Linked DNA regions of Homo sapiens: region 1 is linked to region 2. Evidence: promoter capture Hi-C in 16 types of primary human blood cells and fetal thymus (Javierre and others, 2016). All regions are on one chromosome and are shown on one strand. Each heading gives the region's core, a stretch centred on a gene start or on the middle of the fragment in contact. The rest is flanking DNA. Distances are from core to core; before and after follow the strand shown. Region 1 overlaps CAMK2D (calcium/calmodulin dependent protein kinase II delta). Region 2 holds the start of ARSJ (arylsulfatase family member J).

The links. Contacts are between HindIII fragments. The CHiCAGO score rates a contact against its expected background, and 5 or more counts as called.
Region 1: a contact is called between a fragment that was not itself captured here and the fragment with the promoter of ARSJ in region 2, in 1 of 17 cell types (naive CD4 T cells). The highest score is 5.8, in naive CD4 T cells.

The regions. Positions count from the first base shown.
Region 1 is chr4:113,548,920-113,551,887 of GRCh38, reverse strand. The region is part of intron 5 of CAMK2D (calcium/calmodulin dependent protein kinase II delta); the gene reads left to right. Among named protein-coding and RNA genes, the nearest start is that of CAMK2D, 210 kb to the left of the region's middle. The HindIII fragment of the contact is 5,372 bases long and covers 1-2,968 here.
Region 2 is chr4:113,978,001-113,981,032 of GRCh38, reverse strand. ARSJ (arylsulfatase family member J) reads left to right here and starts at 1,386. Exons shown (of 2, transcript NM_024590.4): 1 at 1,386-2,596. The coding sequence starts at 2,199. It overlaps LOC107986305 (a long non-coding RNA gene), which reads right to left and starts at 1,220. Exons shown (of 2, transcript XR_001741794.2): 1 at 1,047-1,220; 2 at 1-663. It overlaps LOC124900762 (a long non-coding RNA gene), which reads left to right. Exons shown (of 3, transcript XR_007058237.1): 3 at 69-138. The HindIII fragment of the contact is 10,512 bases long and covers 1-3,032 here.

The DNA.
Region 1 (2,968 bases), core at 200-2,699, 430 kb after region 2:
TCTGGTCTATATTTTTATCTAGCATCTGTAGTTAGATTACATATTTTATCAAAAACAACAAGGAAAAACAAACCAAAACACCCCACCTAATTGGAATGACTTCTGCTAAAGCAATATATTTTTTAGTGAAAGTCAGAGATCAAAGATTGAAATCCTCTAATCCCTAGATAGATTCTAGGTTGCCCAGTGGTAGCCAGTAGTCACATGTGGCTATTGCAATTTCAATTAATTAAAATTAAATTAAATTAAAAATTTATTTCTCAGTTGGTCTAACCATGTAGTTGGTCTAGCCAACTGCCTAGTAGCCACAAGTGTCTAGTAGCTACCAATTGGCCAGACCAGATATAGAACATTTTCATCATCACAGAAAGTTCTACTGAACAATGAATATCTAATCAGAAAACAGAAACAGCCTGAAAAAAGTCTCAGTGGTCTCTTTAAGGAACTATTATTAGCTAATTAACTCTTTGGAAATTTCATTAAAACCCTTGAACCCCTGAGTTGAAATATATTTATTCAGGCATTTAAGAGAGTTCAAGAGTAATTTTTCAATCTTGTTAATTGGCAAAATCTTTACAAAAGTTTAAAAAAGGCTAAGTTTTTTGTCTAATTTGCAACTTCCTAGGCTATCCAAGGCAACACTTTTGGAGTGGAGTAACATTAACCACTTGCTTAGATGTTACTGGATTGCATGGTGTAAATTTTCCTGTGTACTTTTATATATTCTGTAGCTGTCATTTATTTTTAAAAATCTGATCAAGAGTGATTGGCTCATTATTAGCAATGTAAATGAGATGTTTGGGAGCAGAGATTGACTCTGCTCCCATTCTCCAATGCCATCAGAGCTTCCCAAGGCTTGCTAATCCCATTGTAGCCTGACCCTCAACAGATGTCCAGCTGATATTAAGGTTCCCAGCCCCTCCTTGCCCTCAGAGGCACACTTCTAAGTTTCTAATTTTTCTTCTTGGTTTAATGCACTGTTTATGGCACTTTGTGAATCTATCTGTACATGACTACGCTCTAATTTTTTAATGGAATTTTTATGGCCAAAGTCAAATAGAAAATTCTGTGTAATTTATACTATGATGAGTGAATCATCACTTGCTCAGTTTACCCCAAATCCCCACATTAGGGTCCTGAAAGGGGCCATGGGGAACCTCTGGAAGTAGCTATTTGGCCACTTGCCAAGAAACAGTAATACTTTTAATCAAGGTACTAAACTAGGGAATTTCATTAATGTTACCCTTCAAAGTTATGTTAAGCAGGCTGTTACTTGGTTTGAAAAATACTGGTTGAAATTAAAATAGAGACTATTTTTACTGCTAAAGAGCTCTAAGATATTTTTTATGAAAGCTCTCCGATAAAATCAAAGAGAAGGAACATTCCCTTCTAAATACATAAAGAGGCTATTTCTCAGTCAGATGTGGTGGCCCACTCCTATAATCCCAGAACTTTGGGAGGCCAAGGTGGGAGGATTGCTTGAGCCCAGGAGTTCGAGACCAGCCTGGGCAACATGGTGAAACCCTGTCTCTGCTGAAAATACAAAACTTAGCCAGGTGTGGCAGCATGCACCTGTAGTCCCAGATAATCAGGAGGCTGAGGCAGGAGAATCACTTGAACCTGGGAGGTGGAGGCTGCAGAGATCATGCCACTGCACTCCAGCCTGGGCGACAGAGTGAGACCCTGTCTCAAAAGAGGCTATTTGATTGTCAAAAAATTGTAAAAATTTTTTACTAGTTCTCAAAAATTTAAGAATTGAATCCATTCTCACTAGTAAAAAAAATGGTGAAGTCCATTTAGTATGTGTTATTGTTTACTTCTTTATCTTCTGTTATTCCCAAGATTCAATAATTTATGCTTGTTGTTTGAGAACAGGAAGAGAAATATTCTTAAAGAGTAGTGCAAAGTGAACATTATTGTAAAAGAAAAAAGATTCCTATGGTTTAAAAATAATGACCAATACTCAAATAAACAATGTAGTCAACAGCAATGAATGTGAGACGCTTTTAGTGGTATTGTTAATAAAAGAGCTAGAAAATCATAGTCATGATCAATTTTTAAAATATTTACATTGTAATAAATCAGATGGTGATTACTTTTTTAAATTCAAGATTTTTCTTTAGAATAATATTATTTTATACATTAAGTGGTTGAAAATGTCCTTATTAAAATGTTTGCTTCATCTTTCAATGAATAAATGTAGTTCAGGATGTACTTGCATTTGAATTGCACAGTGAACTTATACAAAATTCATCAGTGTGATGTGTTCTGCATTATTATATGTCAGATGACAGTTCACAGGACCTTATAGGTGCCAAACAAGGATTTCTCCTCTCTAATTAGCAGTCCCATTTGATATCAGTGAACCCTTAATAAGAATAGCATAAAATGTGCATTTTGATATAGTATGAAGCAAAAGTTTTTCTTCACTGAAGTGTATGGAAGTGGGTTTAATAATTACCAATGCTCCAGGGGATTGTAAATTTGTATTTATTTATTCTTTGAAAGCTCCCTAGCTCTTCCCCAAAGTATTCTTACACTAAAGAGGGGTTTATTTTATTCATGAGTTTACTTTAAATTCTCCCTTTATTGTTGGAGACTTGCATTTGTTTTCCTGTTATATACTTTACAAAAAGCAACGCTTCTAAGGCGAAATGGTAAATGTGTCCCTCCATTTTTTTTGACCCTTGTTTCACCTGCCACTTCATCTGTGTTTACCCTCTTGTTTCAACACCTGTTTAATTGTGACCTCAGATTTTAAACAGTTTAGATGTGTATAAGAAATACCTGGAAATTTTATATCTCTGAAGAATTTTCCCAGAACATTATGGGAATTCTTTATAAATTTTTCTTTCTAAATATGGAGATTTTACCTTCTTATACATATTATTTAATTTGTACACTTACAATGAAAACAACACAACTCAAATTGTTTTGTCTGAACATGTCACAAAGTCTATGTTGGATG
Region 2 (3,032 bases), core at 137-2,636:
CTTAATTTACAGAATTGCTAAACTCACATTTCTGAACATGGCTTCTAAAACTGACTATCTCTCCCCAGCTTAGCCAGAAGGGCTGCAAGGAAGAACAGAGACCAGAAGGCCTACAGCAGCTAGCAAGGTTAACTTCATGGAGCACCATCGTGCCTTTCAAAGTTCCCATTTCACAAAGTTTTGCCTGGGAACTCAGCAGGAACTTTAGCAACAGGAGAGAATTAGAAATAAATGGCTAAATGAAACCTAGATTTATGTTTCAGTCAATTGAGAGAATCTGACATGTTATGTGCCAGCCCACAGTAGGTATTCAGTAAGTAACTGTTGAATAAATTTGGTGGTAGAAAAAAATATCTCAGTGGCTCTTGGCATTCATTGCCTCTTCTATAGAGACTATACTATACATCCCTCTGCTGCCTTTGAGCAGGACTTTAAAACTCTATGACTCTAGTAAAATCAAGAGTATTTTCACAACCAAGATAAGTTTTTACAATGGTTTTCCTCCACATGGTAAAAAAGAAAGAAGGAAAAAAAATGATGAAGCTCCCTGAATTACTGGATGGGAAACACTGGCTTCTTTAATGCAGGAATGCAGACTGGCTTCGGGGTTCTTGAAGGAGAAATGCATAACTCTTCCTCTCCAGGCTTTTGGCTGGAGACACCCTGTGGGTAAGTTAGGGGAGAGGTAAGAGGGAGCGGGCAATTCCAGTATTTTCACATAGGGAAAGGGTAACGAAGAATCAGGCTGTAAAAGCCAGCTATTGGGAGAGGAAATAAAACTTAAAAATTTGTCATCGTTACTGAAAAAAAAAAAAAAAAAGGTAGGGACAAAAGGAATAGGAAAATGATGGGGGTGGGGGGACTAGTAAAGGAAAACCTGCAAAGGAAGTTGGAAAGAGGAAAGAGTGTCATACGCATTTTGTTTTTATTCCTGCTCCTTCTCTCTCACTCCCTCCAGAAGCTAGAAAAAGTTTGCAAGCGCAACTTTAGGGATGGGAGACGGGGCTCTTCACCAACAGCCCCACGAAAAGAAGTGCCCGCTTTACCCTTCCCCATTCGCGCCGCCGTCCTTTCCCTCTAGCGGGGTGATGGGCAGGAGGCGACACTCTTGGGACGCGGTAGCCCAGGCGGATCCCCCGGAATCCCGCTGGGCTGGAGCAGCACGCAGCTCTCTCTCTGGCAAAGCCTCCTCTGCCTTGGCCATCCACCTCCCGGAAAAGAAAAAGGAAAGATCGAGCCTCTAAACAGTCCTTTTCCCCCACCCCCTCTTCCCGGGGGAGCTCAGGAAGAAAGTACCGTTCTGTGATTCACTGGAGAGAAAAGAGGGAGGAGGCAAAAGAACTCGGAGTGCCAAAGCTAAATAAGTTAGCTGAGAAAACGCACGCAGTTTGCAGCGCCTGCGCCGGGTGCGCCAACTACGCAAAGACCAAGCGGGCTCCGCGCGGACCGGCCGCGGGGCTAGGGACCCGGCTTTGGCCTTCAGGCTCCCTAGCAGCGGGGAAAAGGAATTGCTGCCCGGAGTTTCTGCGGAGGTGGAGGGAGATCAGGAAACGGCTTCTTCCTCACTTCGCCGCCTGGTGAGTGTCGGGGAGATTGGCAAACGCCTAGGAAAGGACTGGGGAAAATAGCCCTGGGAAAGTGGAGAAGGTGATCAGGAGGCCGGTCCACTACGGCAGTTTATCTGTCTGATCAGAGCCAGACGCGACGCGTCCACTTCGCAGTTCTTTCCAGGTGTGGGGACCGCAGGACAGACGGCCGATCCCGCCGCCCTCCGTACCAGCACTCCCAGGAGAGTCAGCCTCGCTCCCCAACGTCGAGGGCGCTCTGGCCACGAAAAGTTCCTGTCCACTGTGATTCTCAATTCCTTGCTTGGTTTTTTTCTCCAGAGAACTTTTGGGTGGAGATATTAACTTTTTTCTTTTTTTTTTCCTTGGTGGAAGCTGCTCTAGGGAGGGGGGAGGAGGAGGAGAAAGTGAAATGTGCTGGAGAAGAGCGAGCCCTCCTTGTTCTTCCGGAGTCCCATCCATTAAGCCATCACTTCTGGAAGATTAAAGTTGTCGGACATGGTGACAGCTGAGAGGAGAGGAGGATTTCTTGCCAGGTGGAGAGTCTTCACCGTCTGTTGGGTGCATGTGTGCGCCCGCAGCGGCGCGGGGCGCGTGGTTCTCCGCGTGGAGTCTCACCTGGGACCTGAGTGAATGGCTCCCAGGGGCTGTGCGGGGCATCCGCCTCCGCCTTCTCCACAGGCCTGTGTCTGTCCTGGAAAGATGCTAGCAATGGGGGCGCTGGCAGGATTCTGGATCCTCTGCCTCCTCACTTATGGTTACCTGTCCTGGGGCCAGGCCTTAGAAGAGGAGGAAGAAGGGGCCTTACTAGCTCAAGCTGGAGAGAAACTAGAGCCCAGCACAACTTCCACCTCCCAGCCCCATCTCATTTTCATCCTAGCGGATGATCAGGGATTTAGAGATGTGGGTTACCACGGATCTGAGATTAAAACACCTACTCTTGACAAGCTCGCTGCCGAAGGAGTTAAACTGGAGAACTACTATGTCCAGCCTATTTGCACACCATCCAGGAGTCAGTTTATTACTGGAAAGTAAGTGTTCCTACTTCTTATATTTATTCCTTGGAGAAATCTTAAGCATTTAATGAAGATCCAGCTCCAAATTTAAGGGAGTAACAGAAAGTATGGGGAACAACTGAATGAATGAAGAATGAATGAATGATGTATGGTATTGGGGTACCGTGTTAAAATGGATACAATGTTAATGATCTTAATTTTCTAGTCACTAGTGTAGTCTAGTTTTCCTTTTTACAGAGCCAATTATAAGTTTCTAAATGAGATGAGAACGTATAAATACCCACAAACCAGAGATTTCCAGAAATGGTCTCCTGTTTCAAATCTATTCTACTTTTGAGCATGCTCAGATTTTGTTTCAGATGTCATACTAGAATTCACACTCACCATCACTGATAAGAAAGATCAAAAATTTTTTTTACTCTTGGTGCATTCTTAAATCTAGAATTATCAG